Linked DNA regions of Homo sapiens: regions 1, 2, 4, 5, 6 and 7 are each linked to region 3. Evidence: promoter capture Hi-C in 16 types of primary human blood cells and fetal thymus (Javierre and others, 2016). All regions are on one chromosome and are shown on one strand. Each heading gives the region's core, a stretch centred on a gene start or on the middle of the fragment in contact. The rest is flanking DNA. Distances are from core to core; before and after follow the strand shown. Region 1 overlaps MAGI2 (membrane associated guanylate kinase, WW and PDZ domain containing 2). Region 2 overlaps GSAP (gamma-secretase activating protein). Region 3 holds the start of RSBN1L (round spermatid basic protein 1 like). Region 4 overlaps GSAP (gamma-secretase activating protein). Region 5 has its middle 18 kb from the start of DDX3ILA1. Region 6 overlaps MAGI2 (membrane associated guanylate kinase, WW and PDZ domain containing 2). Region 7 overlaps GSAP (gamma-secretase activating protein).

The links. Contacts are between HindIII fragments. The CHiCAGO score rates a contact against its expected background, and 5 or more counts as called.
Region 1: a contact is called between a fragment that was not itself captured here and the fragment with the promoter of RSBN1L in region 3, in 2 of 17 cell types (fetal thymus and total CD4 T cells). The highest score is 5.6, in fetal thymus.
Region 2: a contact is called between a fragment that was not itself captured here and the fragment with the promoter of RSBN1L in region 3, in 7 of 17 cell types (total B cells, total CD8 T cells, non-activated CD4 T cells and 4 more). The highest score is 9.0, in total B cells.
Region 4: a fragment that was not itself captured here is called in contact with the fragment with the promoter of RSBN1L in region 3 in 11 of 17 cell types (monocytes, total B cells, non-activated CD4 T cells and 8 more); the score reaches 15.2 in monocytes.
Region 5: a contact is called between a fragment that was not itself captured here and the fragment with the promoter of RSBN1L in region 3, in 1 of 17 cell types (total CD4 T cells). The highest score is 5.4, in total CD4 T cells.
Region 6: a fragment that was not itself captured here is called in contact with the fragment with the promoter of RSBN1L in region 3 in 7 of 17 cell types (total B cells, naive B cells, non-activated CD4 T cells and 4 more); the score reaches 10.9 in total B cells.
Region 7: a contact is called between a fragment that was not itself captured here and the fragment with the promoter of RSBN1L in region 3, in 6 of 17 cell types (non-activated CD4 T cells, naive CD8 T cells, total CD8 T cells and 3 more). The highest score is 11.0, in non-activated CD4 T cells.

The regions. Positions count from the first base shown.
Region 1 is chr7:78,043,410-78,046,109 of GRCh38, forward strand. All of the region lies in intron 21 of MAGI2 (membrane associated guanylate kinase, WW and PDZ domain containing 2), which reads right to left. Among named protein-coding and RNA genes, the nearest start is that of DDX3ILA1, 54 kb to the left of the region's middle. The HindIII fragment of the contact is 2,343 bases long and covers 209-2,551 here.
Region 2 is chr7:77,329,211-77,331,910 of GRCh38, forward strand. GSAP (gamma-secretase activating protein) reads right to left here. Exons shown (of 31, transcript NM_017439.4): 20 at 1,029-1,157; 21 at 123-181. Among named protein-coding and RNA genes, the nearest start is that of CCDC146-AS1, 82 kb to the left of the region's middle. The HindIII fragment of the contact is 2,831 bases long and covers 1-2,700 here.
Region 3 is chr7:77,695,158-77,697,857 of GRCh38, forward strand. It overlaps RSBN1L (round spermatid basic protein 1 like), which reads left to right and starts at 1,302. Exons shown (of 8, transcript NM_198467.3): 1 at 1,302-1,898. The coding sequence starts at 1,313. APTR (Alu-mediated CDKN1A/p21 transcriptional regulator) reads right to left here and starts at 1,108. Exons shown (of 2, transcript NR_134254.1): 1 at 739-1,108. RefSeq lists enhancers at 397-1,292, 1,293-2,188, 1,373-1,602 and silencers at 1,123-1,342, 1,813-2,132, 2,423-2,522. The HindIII fragment of the contact is 2,163 bases long and covers 651-2,700 here.
Region 4 is chr7:77,365,010-77,367,709 of GRCh38, forward strand. All of the region lies in intron 12 of GSAP (gamma-secretase activating protein), which reads right to left. Among named protein-coding and RNA genes, the nearest start is that of GSAP, 50 kb to the right of the region's middle. The HindIII fragment of the contact is 6,987 bases long and covers 1-2,700 here.
Region 5 is chr7:78,007,107-78,009,806 of GRCh38, forward strand. No RefSeq gene overlaps it. Among named protein-coding and RNA genes, the nearest start is that of DDX3ILA1, 18 kb to the left of the region's middle. The HindIII fragment of the contact is 6,998 bases long and covers 1-2,700 here.
Region 6 is chr7:78,025,587-78,028,286 of GRCh38, forward strand. All of the region lies in intron 21 of MAGI2 (membrane associated guanylate kinase, WW and PDZ domain containing 2), which reads right to left. Among named protein-coding and RNA genes, the nearest start is that of DDX3ILA1, 37 kb to the left of the region's middle. The HindIII fragment of the contact is 2,914 bases long and covers 1-2,700 here.
Region 7 is chr7:77,345,395-77,348,094 of GRCh38, forward strand. All of the region lies in intron 19 of GSAP (gamma-secretase activating protein), which reads right to left. Among named protein-coding and RNA genes, the nearest start is that of GSAP, 70 kb to the right of the region's middle. RefSeq lists an enhancer at 2,639-2,700. The HindIII fragment of the contact is 5,489 bases long and covers 1-2,700 here.

The DNA of each region.
Region 1 (2,700 bases), core at 130-2,629, 350 kb after region 3:
CAGCCTTAAAGGTCAAGAGAAAGTTTTGTTGGGAACATAGTTTTAGATTAATTTTTAGAAGTGCAGCTGCTCCCTTGACCTCTGGGGCTGGAAAGGATTGGCCAAAATCTCCATTTATATCCACTTGAAATAACTGACAAAGCTGGATTTGGGATTCAGAGAGTCCCAGAGGAAGGCCTGTCAGTGCCTTCTTCTTTTTTAGCCTTTAAGCTTGAATGAGTCGAGCGAGTCAAAGAAATTTTAACGGATGTACAGACAATGTCTTCACGGTCAACTTTTCACATCGTCGTTTGCTTAGGAAAGAGTGAAGATTAAGCAGCTTGCACTTTATTTTTGGCAATGCCTTTCCCTAGAACACAGGAATCCACAATTTACTGAGGGGAAATAATTATAAACCTTAAGAGGTGTAAGTTTCAGCCTCAAAAACTAACAAACTGAGAACTAATGTATTTTTGGTATAATTACTAGTTTTACTAAGTTTGATTTTTGCCAGACTTTCACCTAAAGCAAATGCAAAAAAGAATAGTGACAATTAATGGATTGGGCCAGTTACTAGAGTAGAAATCTTTCAGGTTCAAGCTAATTCTCTTTACTCCTCTATTTTCCCAGGGTAGCATGATTAAAGGTAAATGAAAAACCAATGGGGATAATTTGTGTTATAACTTGCACTTCTATTATGAGGAGGACATCATTATTCTATTATTTTATGAGAAATGTTCATTAAAATAATGTGACTCCCCCAACTCCAAAATTTACGGTACCATTAATGTTTCCTTTTCAGAACCGAGAGTTCCTATAGCATTCTCTCACTTTTTAAGTTTGTCATCCATTATTTCTAAGTAGACATATGGCTGCTTTAACTAATAGAGGCATGTGTGTATGTCTGTATAGGACTAGAGAAGAGATCTTTCTTTTCCTCTCTCCAACATAGCTATGAGGAAGACAGGTCAGTTGCAATTACTGCCATTCCAGAGACAGAATGATAGAGGTGTAAGGGCCACCCACGATGGCATTAACACATCTGCAGACTCTAGATTCTCCTTTTGCTGAACACTAGCAAATCACTTTGAATCAATGTGGAGTTTTAGTATAGCTTTTTGTTCTTTTTCTTTTTCACAGCAGTATGGAAGACTGGTTAGTACGACAGTACACTGTGAAATCCTTAATTCATTTTTTCAGTTGACACATATTTTTGGGGACTTGGTAGATGGTCAGGATACAATGATCAACAAGATAGACAAAGTCAGTGCCTTGTGAGGCTAATGTACCGTGTGTGTGTGTGTGTGTGTGTGTGTGCACGTGTGCACACGCAGTTGGCTCCCACTGAGAGATGGAATGAGTGGCAAAGTTAAGCTGGCCTTTCATAGAATCTCAGTGTTACCTTTTGCTAAGAATGGGAATAAAGGCCAAATGTGAATAGAAACTTAGGACTCAAGAGACTTTATTTGATAAGTCTGTCTCAGAAATCTAAGGATGTGGCCGGGTGCGGCGGCTCACACCTGTAATCCCAGCACTTTGGAAGGCCAAGGCGGGTGGATCACGAGGTCAAGAGATAGAGACCATCCTGGCCAACACGGTGAAACCCCGTCTCTACTAGAAATACAAAAATTAGTCGGGCGTGGTGGCACATGCCTGTAGTCCCAGCTACTTGGGAGGCTGAGGCAGGAGAATTGCTTGAACCCAGGAGGCAGAGGTTGCAGTGAGCCGAGATCGCACCACTGAACTCTAGCCTGGCGATAGAGCGAGACTTGGTCTCAAAAAATAAATAAATAAATAATAAAATAAATAAAACAAAATCAAAACCAATAATAAATCTAAGGATGTACTTAAATTGTAGAGACATAGGTATATAGGAGGACAGCAACAGCCATTTAATGATCTTTGGTTGGGGTCTTATTTTTTTTAGTTTTGTTATTCATTCATCCATTCACTCATTTCGTCAAACACTGGGTGACCTATCCATATCCTTAAGTTAGAGCAATGTGCTAGCCATTGGGAATATGAAAATGAATTTAGAAACACTTCTCTTCATGACCTTGAGCAGCTCACATTCTAGGGAAAGGAAAAGAATACCTGAAGAAATAAATATGATACAATGTGTTAAGCACTTTAATAGAATTACATACTGAGCGATATAAAGATATAGAAAAGTCCCTCAGAAATACATCTTTGAGAAAAAGAAGCTGAATAATGATGGCGTTTTCATGAGCCTTTTCAGTTCCAGTCAACAATTTTATGGTTATGTTTATATGTGAGACAAGCCCTCTTTGCCTTCATCTGAGATCTGAAGATTCACTTAATCAGAGCCTGACTCCAATTTCCTTTACAATTATGTACAGTTCTCTTAGTAAAGAGCATGCATGCAGGGTGCTTTATAGCCTTATCCCACAGAACCCATACTCCGGATGGGAGATGTTACATTTCATCTCCATTCTCTGTCCCTTAACTTTTCCCTGCCAGCAGCCATCCTATACTAAGTACTAATATATAAACCTTGTGATACTTGCTCTATTGGACATTCAGTGGCCTTGCATCCTTCCCGTCAATGCCAAGCTTAAGAACTAGATGGTTTCCGGTGTCTCAGACCTGGCAGAACTTGAATGATGAACACACAGTTGAGAAATTCAGGAGAGTTAGGAACTTAATACCAAGGGAAGGAATCCCGCTTTCTCTGGGGCCTAAAAGGACCAGAAATAGGAA
Region 2 (2,700 bases), core at 94-2,593, 370 kb before region 3:
AATATTATTTTGCTGGGGATATGCAACAAAAGTAAACTACTTCTATAAAAGGTAGCCAACAAAACAAAGTAATTGTAAATGTCAACCATCTTACAGATATGATAACCTCTGCTTTCACTTACTTTACTGCATTATCAAGAATATTCCTCACGTATGCCGCAGACCTTCTTTTTCCTGTTTTCTAGGAGTGAGAACACGTCAGAAATGTGGAAGGTAAAGGTTTTATCGGTGACTTTTCACGTCAAGGATATAATGCAATACAGTTAAGAGCATCAGAGAGAAGAAATATACTTTCCAGGTAATCAGAACACCTAGATTTTTTTTAAAGTTTTAAGAAATATTTTATTCTGAAACAATTACAGATTCACAGGAAACTGCGAGTCAACTATATACTACACACAACAACACTAATCTACATGCAGCGATACTAGAGAGAGATGCAATGTACCCTCCACCCAGTCTCCTCAGTGCTTATATCTTACCTAACTAGAGCACAATATCAAAATCAAAAATTGACATTGGCACAATGTGTGTGTGTCATTCTATGTCATTTTATCATGTTTAGATTCATGTCCCACAATGTACCACCACAATCAACACATAGAAGTCTTCGATCACCCCCAAAGATTTCCCTGGGTCACCCCTGGACAGTGAGTCACGTCCACTATTCTCCCTCCAACTACCCCAACCCCTAATGACCACTAAGTTGGGAACACCTAGATTTTTTAATATCAATTTTTAACTACATAAGTAACCTGAGAACACATCTGAGACATGGATATTAATCATACTTCTACTATGAATGTGCTGTGTGTCCCCTTAAACTTTCTGCTTTTCAGTTTCCTCCCTAGGAGAACAGAGATCATAGAAGCATCTCTGCCCATTGAGATCAGTAATGACAATGATCAAGTCCCTGGCAATTGGGAAGAGTGCTGCACATGGAAGCCAGCCTTATGATTTAAAGGCATCACCTGGATCCAGTCCACTATGCCTCGCTGCTGGCTTTGTTCTCACTGACCCACTCATACCTCTTCAGAGATCAGGTTGTGCCACTCTCTCCTGACCACACTGTTGTTATAGTGGAAGTGTGGCTTGGCGTACTTAACATATTCTAGGTTGGAGTTCAGTTTTTCCCAGTAGCCCTTAAAGCTGAGCACCTGTAGGAGACAAAAACATCAGTGGCCTTCAGAGGCAGGCCCAGTGGCCCAAACCACCCAGTGAGTATTACACAAGCCTTATTTCCCGAGCTCTCAGGGTCCACATTTCTGAGTGAATACTTTGTACAGAAGATGGCATTCTAGACCCAATAGGGATTCTAAAATAGACTTAAAGAATCTTCTTTACCCACTTCATTTTCTGTCTCTTTTTTTTTTTTTTTTTTTTGTCGTTGTTTTTTTAAACCACATAGAGAACTGCTGCTCACTTCCCAAAACCAACAGGACTTCCCCAGATTGAGGCTTAGCAGGGAAACCTGTATTAAACACACTGAGTCATTTCCTCCCTTGAGACCCGTTTTTATGACTTAGGTGGTGTCAACAGTGCCATGTTCACTAAGAGAAAGTTCATTAACATTTGGATAAATGGAGTAGGCGTACTTTCCTGCTAAATTTATTTACTGCCCAGGACATTTTTCAAAACCTAGGAATCAAAAAAAGATAAAATGAACTAATTTTACATTGTCACATACACCAAAACAGAATTAGTCAGCATTCTATCTAGATCTTTGAATTATTGATATAATTGTACTACCCTGAAGCAAGAATGTATCCATTATATTCATTTTTAAATAATAAAATGCAATGTTAATACGTTCTTAGTGTTGACCAGGTGCAGTGGCTCATGCCTGTAATCCCAGCACTTTGGGAGGCTGAGGTGGGCGGATCACGAAGTCAGGAGATCGAGACCACGGTGAAACCCCGTCTCTACCAAAAATACAAAAAATTAGCCAGGTGCAGTGGCGGGCGCTTGTAGTCCCAGCTACTCAGGAGGCTGAGGCAGGAGAGTGGCATGAACCCAGGAAGTGGAGCTAGCAGTGAGCTGAGATCATGCCACTGCACTCCAGCCTGGGTGACAGAGCGAGACTCCGTCTCAAAAAAAATAAAAATAAAAAAATACATTCTTAGTGTTGAAGGATATTCTGACACAACTTGGTTTTAAACCAATAAAGGTAGACTTAGGATACTTTTTGCCAAAATATGTGCATTTACAAATGATTTGACTGGGGCCAGAGATGTAATGTGTGGTCATAAAACTAAGTGAACTATTGCCTGCCAAGGTGACAAGACTTGGCTGAACTGCAAGAAAAATAAGAAAACTTAAAAACAAACAAACAAAAACACCTCAATCAAGAAAAATGCCCTCATGTTAAATTATAGCACATTATTACCATTTTTATTCAAAAGACAGTCATAATTGGTTTGAAATGTGTTTTGGAGTATCAGTAAAGTAAGTAACATAATATTAAAACTTGCTCTTTCAGAAGCCTGAAATGCCCATCCAGCCAACATCCCTTCTCCCAGAGACAGAAAAACTCTTCCCAAGAAAGTCTCATGTCCCGGGGAAAACAGGAATCAAATCCCACTCCTCACTTGACTCACCTCACTCATCTTTTCTTTCCCTTTCCATTTATTTATAATGAACGTACACTTATCCACCCTTTGGGTCTTCTTTGTATTTAAGAAGAAAAAAAAAAAAAAAAAA
Region 3 (2,700 bases), core at 52-2,551:
AGCTGGAGTGCAGTGGCGCAGTCTCGGCTCACTGCAACCTCCGCCTCCTGGGTTCAAGCGATTCTCCTGCCCCAGCCTCCCCAGTAGCTGGGATTACAGGTGCGCGCTTCCATGCCCAGCTAATTTTTGCATTTTTAGTAGAGACGGGGTTTCACCATGTTGGTCAGGCTGGTCTCGAACTTCTGACCTCGTGATCCGCCCGCCCCGGTCTCCCAAAGTGCTGGGATTACAGGTGTGAGCCACCGCGCCCGGCTATAATAATTATTATAAAATTCAAATCTTAAGGCCGCACATGGTGGCTCACGCCTGTAATCCCAGCACTTTGGGAAGCGGAGGTGGGCCGCTCACCTGAGATCAGGAGTTCGAGTCCAGCCTGGCCAACATGGTGAAACCCCGTCTCTAATAAACACAAAAATTAGCCAAGCATGGTGCCGGACGCCTGTAGTCCCTGTTACTGGGGAGGCTGAGGCAGGAGAATCGCTTGAATCTGGGAGGCGGAGGTTGCGGTGAGCCGAGATCGCGCCACGGCACTCCAGCCTCGACAACAGAGCAAAACTCCGTCCCAATAAATAAATAAATAAATAAAATAAAAATCTTAAGGGTCTAGTCACAACAGTTCAAAAGTCTCCAAAGGGAGACTCTCACCTTCAAGCTTGTAAGTAATACTAAAGTTCTAGATTTGCTGGAAGTTATCTCCTTCAATGGATTACAGCACATGATCTAGCAATAATAACGTACCTTGTCACCACATCGAATGATTTTGAACACTTCCCATCAATCGACTACCGACTAACAAAAAGAAGGACTTGATTCCCGGCAATTTTTTCTCTTCTGAACTGAGCATTCCCGAAATCCAGCTTGCTGAACGCGCAGATGCAGGGTGAGAGGCACCCCAGGAAAAATGGAAGGGAAAGTGGTACAAGTTAAAACAGTCTTCGTGGCCGCAGAGACGATCGCTACCTCGGCCATGGCAGATCTGGGGGTCCGGGGCGGGGGTTCTTCCCTGATACCCACCGGGCACGCGAGTTCACGCCAGCGACAGTGGAAAGCCCTCCCCTCGCAGCGCGCTCCGCCACTAGCCGCACCCCGCCGAGCTCTGACCTCCGAAGAGGGTCCCTGTGGCGATCCCGCCCCTTCGTCTGATGTTTGTGCCTTTGATTGGCTCTTAGGTGGATCCCTCAGCGTGGCTTGCCCAATGGAGCAATGCCGGCTGGTGGCCTGGCCGCTCCGCCCCTTCCCTACCCCTCGCGGAGGGCCCGCCCCCTGCCCCGCGCCGGCTAGCGGAGGAGAGTAAATACAACAGGAGCGCAAAATGGCGGAACCGCCGAGCCCCGTGCACTGTGTCGCTGCCGCGGCCCCCACCGCCACCGTCTCGGAGAAAGAACCGTTTGGCAAGCTGCAACTCTCCTCCCGGGACCCTCCGGGTTCTCTGTCCGCCAAGAAGGTCCGGACTGAGGAGAAGAAGGCACCGCGGAGAGTGAACGGAGAAGGGGGCAGCGGCGGGAACAGCAGGCAGCTGCAGCCGCCGGCAGCACCTTCGCCTCAGAGCTATGGCAGCCCCGCGTCTTGGAGCTTTGCCCCTCTGTCTGCTGCTCCCTCCCCGTCCTCTTCTCGGAGCAGTTTCTCTTTCTCCGCTGGCACGGCCGTTCCCTCCTCAGCCTCCGCTTCCTTGTCTCAGCCGGTGCCGCGCAAACTGCTGGTCCCTCCTACGCTGCTGCACGCTCAGCCTCACCATCTCCTCCTGCCCGCCGCCGCCGCCGCTGCCTCGGCTAACGCCAAGTCGCGCAGACCTAAGGAGAAGCGGGAGAAGGAGAGGAGGAGGCACGGTCTCGGTGGGGCCCGAGAGGCCGGCGGGGCCTCCCGGGAGGAGAACGGGGAGGTGAAGCCGCTGCCCCGAGGTGGGTGCCGTGCGGGGAGGGGGAGGGGAGGGCGCCGTGGGTCCCCGCCGCCCCCTGGCGCCCACGGGGCCCGGGAAGGGGGAGCGCGGCGGCCGCGTGCGCCGGCCTGGAGGGGCTGGGAGGCGTCCGGTTTTCAGCAGAGGATTTTGCAGTTCCCAAGGGGACAGGAAATGGAGCCTGTAATTTCGGTTGCAGAGAGGGGGATGGCCGACACTCTTATTTTCTGTATCGTTTCTTCCTCCCAGTTAGTGCGCTGCAGGATTTGTGAAAATCCATCTTGAGGACTCTCCTAGGTTTGTTTGGCTAGGGAGAGAGATGGAGGGAACGGGATGGGGGAAGGGTTTGGTTTTGTAAAAGATGCTTGATTGATTGTTAGACCACTTAGACGTGGTCGCGGGAATTCGTATTTGTGACACAGCGTTCAACCCCGGATAATCCTGTCAAAAAAGGGGTGTGGAGAGAGCACTGGCGTCAGCTGGAAGCTACCAGAGGCCTGAGCTTTTCATCCCTATTAGGGAAATGAGGTAGCGTGCAGGGCCCGAAGTGCGCTGTTTCGTAAGGTACCCTCCCTGCACCCTACTCTCCGCTGCGTATTCTTAAGTGTTTTGGGTGGTCCTGTTTGAAATACCACCCTTCTGAAAGAATTTTCAGCCATATTCTTTTTTTCCCTGCAGCAAATGATAAAACCAGGAGCTTTGACGATTTTTCGCCAGATCAAGCGGCTGCAGAATGTTTGAGCATTAGAAAAAGGCGAATTCTTAAGGGTTCTTGTCAGACAGGGTCAGTTTTGTTTTTAAATGTA
Region 4 (2,700 bases), core at 186-2,685, 330 kb before region 3:
GAGTGCAGTGGTGCAAACATGGCTCACTGTAGCCTTAACCTCCCAGGCTCAAACAATCCTCCCACTTCAGCCTTCCAAATAGCTAGGACTACATGTGTGCCTGGCTAATTATTTTATTTTTTTTAAGAGATGGAGTCTATGTTACCCAGGGTGGTCTTGAACTCCCTGGGCTCATGTGATCTTCCTACTTTGGCCTCCCAAAGAGCTGGGACTACAGGAATTTTTTTTAACTTCTATTTTCAGTTCAGGGGTACATGTGAAGGTTTGTTATATAGGTAAACTCATATCACAGGGGTTTATTTTTACAGATAATTTCATCACCCAGCTATTAAGCCTGGTACTCAATAGTTACTTTTTCTGCTCCGCTCCCTCCTCCCACCCTCCACTCTCAAGAAGACCCCAGTGTCTGTTGTTCCCTTGTGTTCAGGAGTTCTCATCATTTAGCTCCTACCTGTAAGTGAGAACACTAGGTATTTCGTTTTACTGTTCCTGCGTTAGTTTGCTAAGGATAATAGCCTCTATCTCCATCCATGTTCCCACAAAAGACATGATCTCATTCTTTTTTATAGCTGCACAGTATTCCACGGTATGTATGTACCACATTTTCTTTATCCAATCTGTCACTGATGGGCATTTAGGTTGATTCCATGTCTTTGCTAACATGAATCACGCTGCAATTGACATTTGCATACGTATATCTTTATGGTAGAATGATTTTTATTCCTCTAAGTATATACCCAGTAATCAGATTGCTGGGTCCAATAGTAGTTCTGCTGTTAGCCTTTGAGTAATCACCATACTGCTTTCCACAATGGTAGAACTAACTTACACTCTCATCAACAGTGTATAAGTCTTCCCTTTTCTCTGCAACCTTGCCAGCAACTGTGGGTTTTTTTTTTTTTTTTTTTTTTTTACTTTTAATAATAGCCATTCTGACTGGTATGAGATGGTATCTCATTGTAACCTCTATCTGCATTTCTCTAATCCTCAGTGATACTGAGTTTTTCACATGCTTGCTGGCCACATGTCTTCTTTTGTAAAGTATCTGTTCATGTCCTTTGCCCACTTTTTAATGGAGTTGTTTTTGTCTTATAAATTTAAGTACCTTGTAGATGCTGGATACTAGGCCTTTGTCAGATGCATAGTTTGCAAATATTTTCTCCCAATTCTGTAGGTCGTTTGGTTTACTCTGTTAGTTTCTTTTGCTGTGCAGAAGCTCTTAAGTTTAATTCGATCCCATTTGTCAATTTTTGCTTCTTTTGTGATTACTTTTGATGTCTTTGTTATGAAATATTTGCCCATTCCTATGACTAGGATGGTATTGCCTACGTTTTCTTTCAGAATTTTTATAAATTTTGGGTTTTACATTTAAGTCTTTAATGCATCTTGAGTTGATTTTTGTCTATGTTGTAAGGAAGGGTTCCAGTTTCAATTTCTATATATGGCTAGCCAGTTATCCCAACACCATTTATTGAGTAGGGAGTCTTTTCCCCATTGCTTTTGTCAGCTTTGCTGAAGATCAGGTAGTCATAGGTGTGCAGCCTTATTTCTGGGTTCGCTATTCCATTCTATTGGTCTATGTGCCTGTTTTGGTAACAGTACCATACTGTTTTGGTTACTGTAGCCCTGTAGTATAGTTTGAAGTTGGGTAACATGATATCTCCAGCTTTGTTCTTTTTGCTTAGGTGTACCTTGGCTACTCAGGCTTTTTTGGTTCCATATGAATTTTAAGACAGTTTTTTCTAGTTCTGTGAAGAATATTGATAGTTTGATAGGAATAGCATTGAATCTGTACACTGCTTTGGGCAGTATGGTCATTTTAATGATATTGATTCTTCCTATCCATGAGCATGTTTTTCCATTTCTTTGTAACTTCTGATTTCTTTGAGCAGTGTTTTGTAATTCTCATTGTAGACATCTTTAACTTCCCCTCCCTGGTTAGCTGTATTCCTAGGTATTTTATTCTTTCTGTGGCAATTGTGAATGGGATTGCCTTTCTGATTTGGCTCTTGACTTTGCTCTTGTTGGTGTAAAGAAATGCTAGAGATTTCTGTACATTGATTTTGTATCCTGAAAGTTTGCTGAAGTTGTTTATCAGTTGAAGGAGCTTTTGGGCTGAGACTATGGGGTTTTCTACAGAATCATGCCGTATGCAAACAGGGATAGCCTGACTTCCTCTCTTCCTATTTGGGATGCTCTCTTGCCTGATTGCTCTAGCTATGACTTCCAATACCATGTTGGATAGGAGTGGTGAGAGAGGACATCCTTGTCCTGTGCCAGTTTTCAAGGGAAATGCTACCAGCTTTTGCCCATTCAGTATGATGTTGGCTATGGGTTTGTCATAGATGGCTATTATTTTGAGGTTTTCCTTCAATACCTAGTTTATTCAGAGTTTTTAACATGAAGGGGTATTGAGTTTTATCGAAAGCCTTTTCTGCATCTATTGAGATAAATGTGGTTTTTGTCTTTAATTCTGTTTATGTGATGAATCACATTTATTGAATTGCATATGTTGAGCCAACCTTGCCTCCCAGGGATGAAACCTACTTGACTGTGGTAGATTAGCTTTTTGACATGTTATTGGATTTGGTTTCCATGTATTTTGATGATTTTTGCATCAGCGTTCATCAAGGATATTGGCCTGAAGTTTTCTTTTGTTCTTATGTCTCTGACAGGTTTTCAGTATCAGGATGATGCTGG
Region 5 (2,700 bases), core at 192-2,691, 310 kb after region 3:
GGATTATAGGTATGAGCCACCGTGCCTGGCCCAGTCTCAAGTAATTGATCCCAGGCTGTTTCTCAGCATGGATGATGGTTCTACATGTGCCTATTTTAAAACTGAGTAAACCATCCAAATGTTTTTGTGTACTTTTTGGCATAGATGTTATTTTGTCACAATGAAAGTACTAAAATTGGAGTCCCTGGATAGATGTGTGTGAATCTGGGTATCTGTGTGCTCGTGAGTCTCTGTGTGTTCACGTGTGAGTATATATACATATATTCTCAGCCTTTGTCTTGTAGTGCCGCATTTGCTCACTTTGGCTTGCTTTGGGCCATGCCTAGGGCCATCTCAGAGTTGGAAATCCAGATCAAGAAGCAAGAATCCAGGCATGCCTGCAGAACACAGAGATAGTTGAAGGTATGTCCCTGAATCTTATGACCCCTGCTAATTTTTAACATTTGGAAAGGGTAGTTTACATGGGTCTCTGTTCTGAAGCATTCTTTCTATGAATTTCTCTTTTTATTCCATGTCCATTATGGTTGAAGCAGTTGCAGCTCATTTGTATTATCTTGTTAAGCGCTGGAAAAATAAATTGGCTCATGTCTTTCCTGGTACCTGGATTTCAAGAAGTCAAATCTTTTCTGTCTTTGCTTCCAGTAGCAAGGCACTCTTTGCATCCTAACACTTTTGTGAATGCATTTATGATGCATAGGACAGTTCCTTTGCCTAATGGTTCAGCAGTCTCCCTTTGCTGTGGCTTTTGCCTTAAGGCAAGCATTTAAAGATATTAAGAGAGCGTTCTGCTTTCATTAGCATGTTTTATTCTTTATTCCTAAGAGTCGTTTTAATCATATTAATTTGGAAGGACCCACCTGAAATTGCACAACCTCTTGTCTCCCTCTCTCTGAGGTCCCCTCCAGCTACATGGTCTAGGAGTCCCTACCATCTTACCCACTTCTGATGTTCTTCCGTTGTCTTGACCCCTGTCCCACCCCTTTGCCCAAGCCATGGGCTCCTCCCACTTGGTGGCTTTGTCCTTGTACTCCCTCTGTACCCTTCCTCTCGCTGTGCGCTGGAAAGGGTCTAAGATTGGGATTTAGAAGCTGAGTGCTATGCTTCTTAGTAGCTGCGTGACTTTGGGCAAATAATCTTAAAGACCACAACTTCTTCGTCTCTGCAAAGATATAGTCCCCATTCCCATTTTATATAGTGTGAGAATCAAATGGAAATATGCATAATATCACTGTGAAAACAATCATTATATATATCCAGAGTAATAATCCTGCCATTCTAATGCTAGGTTAACTCTACTGTTCATGTCCTTGGCTCCTGGCCCTGGAACGAGGCTAGATGTCTTACTGTTAGGGAACAAATCCTGTATACACATGGGCTGTGTCAGGTGAAGAGATGGCCCAGGAAGTCCTAGGCAGAGCATGCTCTGTTTCAGAAATGCCTGCAGAGAAACAGGGAGGCTTGAATCACTCCTGCTCTCAGAAGTGTTTTGGAAGGAGTATTCTTTTATTTAACAACTCCTTGTTGAGCACTTACTCCATACCAGACTTTGTATTAAGACGGACCTGGGTTAGAATTCTAGATCTGCCCAAGGGTACACAGTAAGACTGGTTAAGCCTGGAACCAAGAACCAAGGGTATACAGTAAGACTGATTAAGCCTGGAACCCAGGACGATGGGGGATGCCCCATCCAGAATAATAGGAAGAAAGGGGGGATGCCTTCTTTTTTCTTTTTTTTCCCGTCCTTTGTTCTCTTCATGAGTGGCAGATGGGTAATCGCATCTCCATACCACAGGACATGCCCCTTGGATGCATTCTCCAAAACTGGGAAAAGTTTAATTTCCTCAAATCTTAAACTTCTTGGCTTAAAAATAAACTGGAAAGAAATTACAAGACTCAGCTTCGAAACCCAGTACACCATGCAGGAAGTCCTCAGATTAGCCTCTTAAGTCTTTTATAATGGAGAGTAGAAAAAGGATGACAGGGCTAAGCCTGTTGGGTGGGGCAAATGGCATCCCCTCCCTCCAAAAGAAAATATTAAACTTCTTACCAGTCAGACTTCTGGCTTCTCTCTCTGTGCAAACTGGTTGTAGAAATGGTAAAAATCACTGTATTCCCTGCCCCTCCATGCACAACTTCTGATTTCTCTCTCTTTTTTTTTTTTTTGTGACGGAGTCTTGCTCTGTTGCCCAGGCTGGAGTGCAGTGGCGCGATCTCGGCTCACTGCAAGCTCCGCCTCCCTGGTTCATGCCATTCTCCTGCCTCAGCCTCCTGAGTAGCTGGGACTACAGGAGCCCGCCACCCCACCTGGCTAATTTTTTTGTATTTTTTAATAGATATGGGGTTTCACCATGTTAGCCAGGATGGTCTTGATCTCCTGACCTCGTGATCCGCCCGCCTTGGCCTCTCAAAGTGCTGGGATTACAAGCATGAGCCACCGCGCCCAGCCTGATTTCTCTTCTTGAATTTTCCTTTCTCAGAGCTACTTTTGTGGACTCTAAATTTTGTAAAAATTGCTTATCACTTTTCTAAAAATACCTTGTACACTCATGGTTAAGTCATAACTTTAGTTAAAACTTATTGACTTCACCTTTGAGGTTGCCTTTGGCAAAGCTCAAAAGACACAAGTATTTGCCATTTGGCCAGGCTAAAGTCAGGTATAAGAGATTAAAAGAATTTTGGCCGGGCACGGTGGCTCATGCC
Region 6 (2,700 bases), core at 45-2,544, 330 kb after region 3:
GAAACACTTCAGGGCAAAGGATTTTCATTTGAAGTATAATCTGTCAAAAACAGGTTTGTATTTGGAACTTTGATCAGTTTTGAGAGGGATGATGGTGGTGAAATGGTAATGTGTATGTGAAGCGGGAGGGGAAATGACTAAGTTTGGGGAGAGGGAACAAGGAGGAAGCCAGCCACAGAAATACACTGGGAAGAGTTCCCGCTTTCATCGGAGGCCCCTTAGGATGGACAGGGATGAAGAGAAGCTCAGATTCCCAGGGCGCAAAGTCAAATTCTGAATTTTTATGGATGTTCTTTCCCGTGTTATGAGCTCTAATGATGCAGTAATAGCTTTACTTAAAGGAGCTCTGTCCCTGGGAAGTCATTAACCAACATGCCAGAAAATGTTCCAATGAACCCACAGGTAAGATAGACTCTAAATATCTTATATTCCACTGTGGGAGAAGCAAGCCCCTCTCCTAAGTTAGGATCAAGTTTCTTACCCTTCCTATTGTCAGTTCTAGCCAGTTTGGATCTTTCCTAGAAAACAGATTGATTAATCCATAAGTACATATCAGTATATATACACACAGATCACACACACCCCATTATGTTTTAGTTAAAAGATGTATGGTTTCTCAAATTATCTTGTAGGAGCCCAGCAATATTAAAAAATAAAATGTGCTCCTTCACTTCATATGCCAGAAATAAAAAATCTCATCTACAGAAATTGTGTTTCAACAGCTTGTTTATGATATATAACCAAAGTGATGGTAAAACCAGAGAGCTGACCCAATAGGAATAAACTGCTTGTTGCAGTAAATAAGTATCTGTATTCTTGGTTTTCCCATATGGCTCTTAACTCCAGCAAACATTTGTGCAGAAGAGGAAAGCATAACCCACATCAAAGGAGAGTTAATTTTATCCTGTGCTGAAGACACAGAGGTTGAGAAAGAAAAATCTTTTAAGGATTGTGCCCAAATTATAATGGTTCATTTGCATCTGTTCCACCATCACAAAGGTGATTGCTCTTTATAACAAAACATAAACAAGAAAACCCTTAGAAGGGAGCCAGAGACTGTGGGCAATGGTGGGGTTCGGGTGGGGCCGGAGGTGGGGTGGGGAAAGAGACTTTGTCAGCTGTCCCATACCTCACCAGTGGCCTCAGGGCATCCAGCTTCAGGCTGGGTGTTTCCGAAAGCCATGAATAAGAGTTCCTACATTGCTTTCCTACTCTCATTACAGGGCATGAACCCAGGGCCTAACGACTGCGTCTTGGATTAGAGTGGTCAGGAAGATAATAGAAGCATTATTGCTATTGATACTACTCATAATGGCAATAGCTAACACTGACTGAGGTACTTACTAGATGCCAGGCACTCTTTGAAGGCCCTGAAATGTATTAACTCATGTTAATACATGTAAACTGACACATTTTACAGATGAGGAAACAGAGACACAGAGGTTAAGGAACTTGTTCAAGGCCACACAGCTGGTAGCTAAGGGGCATTGAATGGCTTTCGGAATTGGGTAATGTTCTACAAACTCAGCTGAAACACTGACGCTGAATGTCTTTACTGTCTGCTAGTCTGATTGAGAAATGAGGGCTCATGTCTTCTTCTGGGGCAGTATAACAGAAACTTCCATCTAAAGTGATTGTCAGAAGCAGGTCCATCGTTATTCCTAATGGAGACTCTCAAACGCCATTTGTGTTTGAACCTTGGACACAGTCGCTATGATTAGAGCATTGATCTGTGAAAATGATAGAAATATGACCTGCAGGCCAGGCGCGGTGGCTCACACCTGTAATCCCAGCACTTTGGGAAGCCAAGGCGGGTGGATCACCTGAGGTCAGGAGTTCAAGACCAGCCTGGCTAACATGGTAAAACCCCGTCTCTACTAAAAATACAAAAATTAGCCGGGTGTGGTGGCACATGCCTGTAATCCCAGCTACTCGGGATGCTGAGGCATGAGAATCGCTTGAACCTGGGAGGCAGAAGTTACAGTGAGCCGAGATCATGCCTCTGCACTCCAGCCTGGGCGACAGAGTGAGACTCCATCTCAAAAAAAAAAAAAAAAGAAAGAAAAAGAAAAAGAAATATGACCTGCAATCAGAGAACAATAAAATTGGATTTCTTAAGGGCAGGGATAGTACTATCTACTTAAAAAAATATCTTCACAGTGACATTCCTTGAAGCTGGATTGAATTGAAAATATATTAGATACTGGAGACACTGAGTCACTTTGAGACATAAATACTTTTACTGCTCAAATGACTAGAATTATTCTGTAAAAATATCCATGAATTTAGTGCCATTTGTTATAAAACTCTTTCCTGTTGCAACCTACAGTTGTCTGGGGTTAGACAATACTGGTGTGGTTTTATTGAAATCTATTTTCTTTTAATTTAGAATATTATGGGAAAATACTAAAATGATTAAGGTAGATCAAAGGACAGTAATGTGAAGTCATTTGGCATTCAAAAGAAAAACCTTTTAAGAATTGTGTTCAAACTATAAAGGTTCATTTGCATCTGTTCAGCCATCACTAAGGTGATTGCTTTTTGTAACAAAATATAAACAAAAGTACCTTGAAAATTGCAGAACAAATGGTTTTACTTTGCATCTGCTCTTTCTGAAGCATTGTTTCCAAGTATGGAGCCATCGTTAATGGCCTTCAAACATGTATTTGTTTCACTTATATTACCAGAGATGTAAACTAG
Region 7 (2,700 bases), core at 75-2,574, 350 kb before region 3:
CCAACACTTCAATGCTATTTTATGTTATTTTTCTTATTAATATAAGAAGACAGGACTATCAGGCCTCTGAGCCCAAGCTAAGCCATCATATCCCCTGTGACCTGCACGTATACATCCAGATGGCCTGAAGGAAGTGAAGAATCACAAAAGAAGTGAAAATGGCCGGTTTCTGCCTTAACTGATGACATTCCACCATTGCGACTTGTTTCTGCCCCATCTTAACTGAGCGATTAACCTTGTGAAATTCCTTCTCCTGGCTCAGAAGCTCCCCCACTGAGCAACTTGTGACACACGCCCCTGCTCATAAGAGAAAACCCCCTTTAACTGTAATTTTTGACTACCCACCCAAATCCTATAAAACGGCCCCACCCCATCTCCCTTCGCTGACTCTTTTCGGACTCAGCCCGCCTGCACCCAGGTGATTAAAAAGCTCTATTGCTCACACAAAGCCTGTTTGGTGGTCTCTTCACCTGGACGCACGTGACATCCCTTTCATTGAATATCAATTTATCACAAAATAAGAATCAAATGCTATAAAAATCGTCATAGCCTTTCACCCAATGTTACCTCTGGGCTCTTAACCTTAGGGGAATAGATCAAAAGAAAAACTGTATGTATAAAAATGTTCACTTTGGGAGGCCGAGGTGGGCAGATCACCTGAGGTCAGGAGTTCGAGACCAGCCTGACCAACATGGTGAAACCCCGCCTCTACTAAAAATACAAAAATTATCCGGGCATAGTGGTGCACACCTGTAATCCCAGCTACTCAGGAGGCTGAGGCAGGAGAATCGCTTGAACCCAGGAGGCAGAGGCTGCAGTGAGCCGAGATCACACCAAAGCACTCCAGCCTGGGCAACGAGAATGAGACTCCATCTCAAAAAAAAAAAAAAAAAAAAGAAAGAAAGAAAAAAAATTCTCTGCAACATTATTTCTAACAGCAAAAAGAAATTTTTTTAATGGGGGCTAGGGACAAACTAAATGTCCAAAAAACAGAAGAACAATTGAGTTAAGGCACTGCAACCCAGCAGGGCATGGTGGCTCATACCTGTAATACCAACACTTTGGGAGGCCGAGTTAGGAGGATGGCTTTAGCTTAGGAGTTTGAAACTAGCTTGGGCAACATAGTAAGACCCTGTCTCTACCAAAAAAAAAAAAAAAAGTTTTAATTAACCAGACATGATGACATGTACGTGTAGTCCTAGCTACTCAGGAGGCTGAAGCAAGAGGACTGCTTGAGCCCAGGAGTTCAAGGTTGCAGTGAGCTGTGACTATGTCATTGCACTCCAGCCTGGGCAACAGAGTGAGACCCTACCTCAAAAAAAGAAAAAAAAAAAAGTATGACATACTTATTGTGGTGTTTTGTATGTATTAATTTTCATCCACCCACTCCTGGTTCACAATGCCCATAGCCTTTGTTACAGCCTGATGTTATAATATCGGGTATTTTAGGCTTCGGGACCAGGACTAGTCTCGGGAAACTCTCTCTCCTGCCTTCCTTTCACCTGCCCTAAGGCATGACTCTCCCCTCCACCACTCCCCACCACCACCCCCCGCCCCACCCCCCTGCCTTTCTGATTGCAGATCTTAAGACCCTCCCCTAAGAGGGTCCTGCCTCATACCCTGGAGGGAAGGAATGCTTCCATAAAAATCCCAGAAGACTGGGTTGGGGAAGTTTCCCCATAGCTGAACAGGTGGAGGTTCCTGGAGGGTGGTGAATCGAAAGAGGGCATGGAAGCTCCACGTCCCTTCCCCCATACCCCACTCTATGCGTCTCTTCATCTGTTTCCTTTGCAATATCCTTTATAATAGGCCAGTAAACATGTTTCCCTGAGTTCTGTGAGCCACCCCAGCAAATTAATCAAACCTAAAGAGGTACCGTGGGAACCCCAACTTAAAGACAGTTGGTCAGAAGTTCCAGAGGTCTGGACTTGCACCTGTTATCTGGGGGTGTGGAGGGTAGTCTTGGGGACTATGTCCCCCAACCTGTGGGATCTGACACTGTCTCTAGGTAGATAGTGTCAGAACTGAATTAAAGGACACCCAGCTGGTGTCTGCTGCTTGGTACATGAAGAATTCCCACACATTTGGTAACAGAAGTGTTTTTCTGTGTTGATGATTATTGTTGCAGTGTGAGAGAGAGGGAAAACACAGTTTGGACAGAGTTTTTCCTCACACACTTACTAATTTAAAATAATAAAAAGAAAAAGACACTGCCATCCAGTGGAATCCTATGGAGTCATTAGAAATTATAAGTTTACATAGCAACATGAAAAAATGTTTACAATAACATAATTTCTAAAATTTATCTAATATCTGTAGATCACAATTACTACTGGGTAAAATATGCATACCTATAACAAAGGCCAAGAGGAAATGGGGGAGAAGAGACAGTTGGTACATTAGGAACTGTAGAATTATGGATGATATTTCTTTCAAAATTTTTCTTCACTGGTTTGTTGTCCATTAAAAAATTATGGTCCATCATGGTGGTTCACACCTATAATCCTAGCACTCTAAGAGGCTAAGGCAGGAGGATGACTTGAGGCCAGTAGATTGAGATCATCCTGGCAACATAGCAAGACCCCATCTCTACAAAAAAAAAAAAAAATAAGAAAAAATAAGAAACTGGATGGGTATGGTGGCTCATGACTGTAGTACCAACCACTCAGGAGGCTGAGACGGGAGGATTGCTTGAGCCCA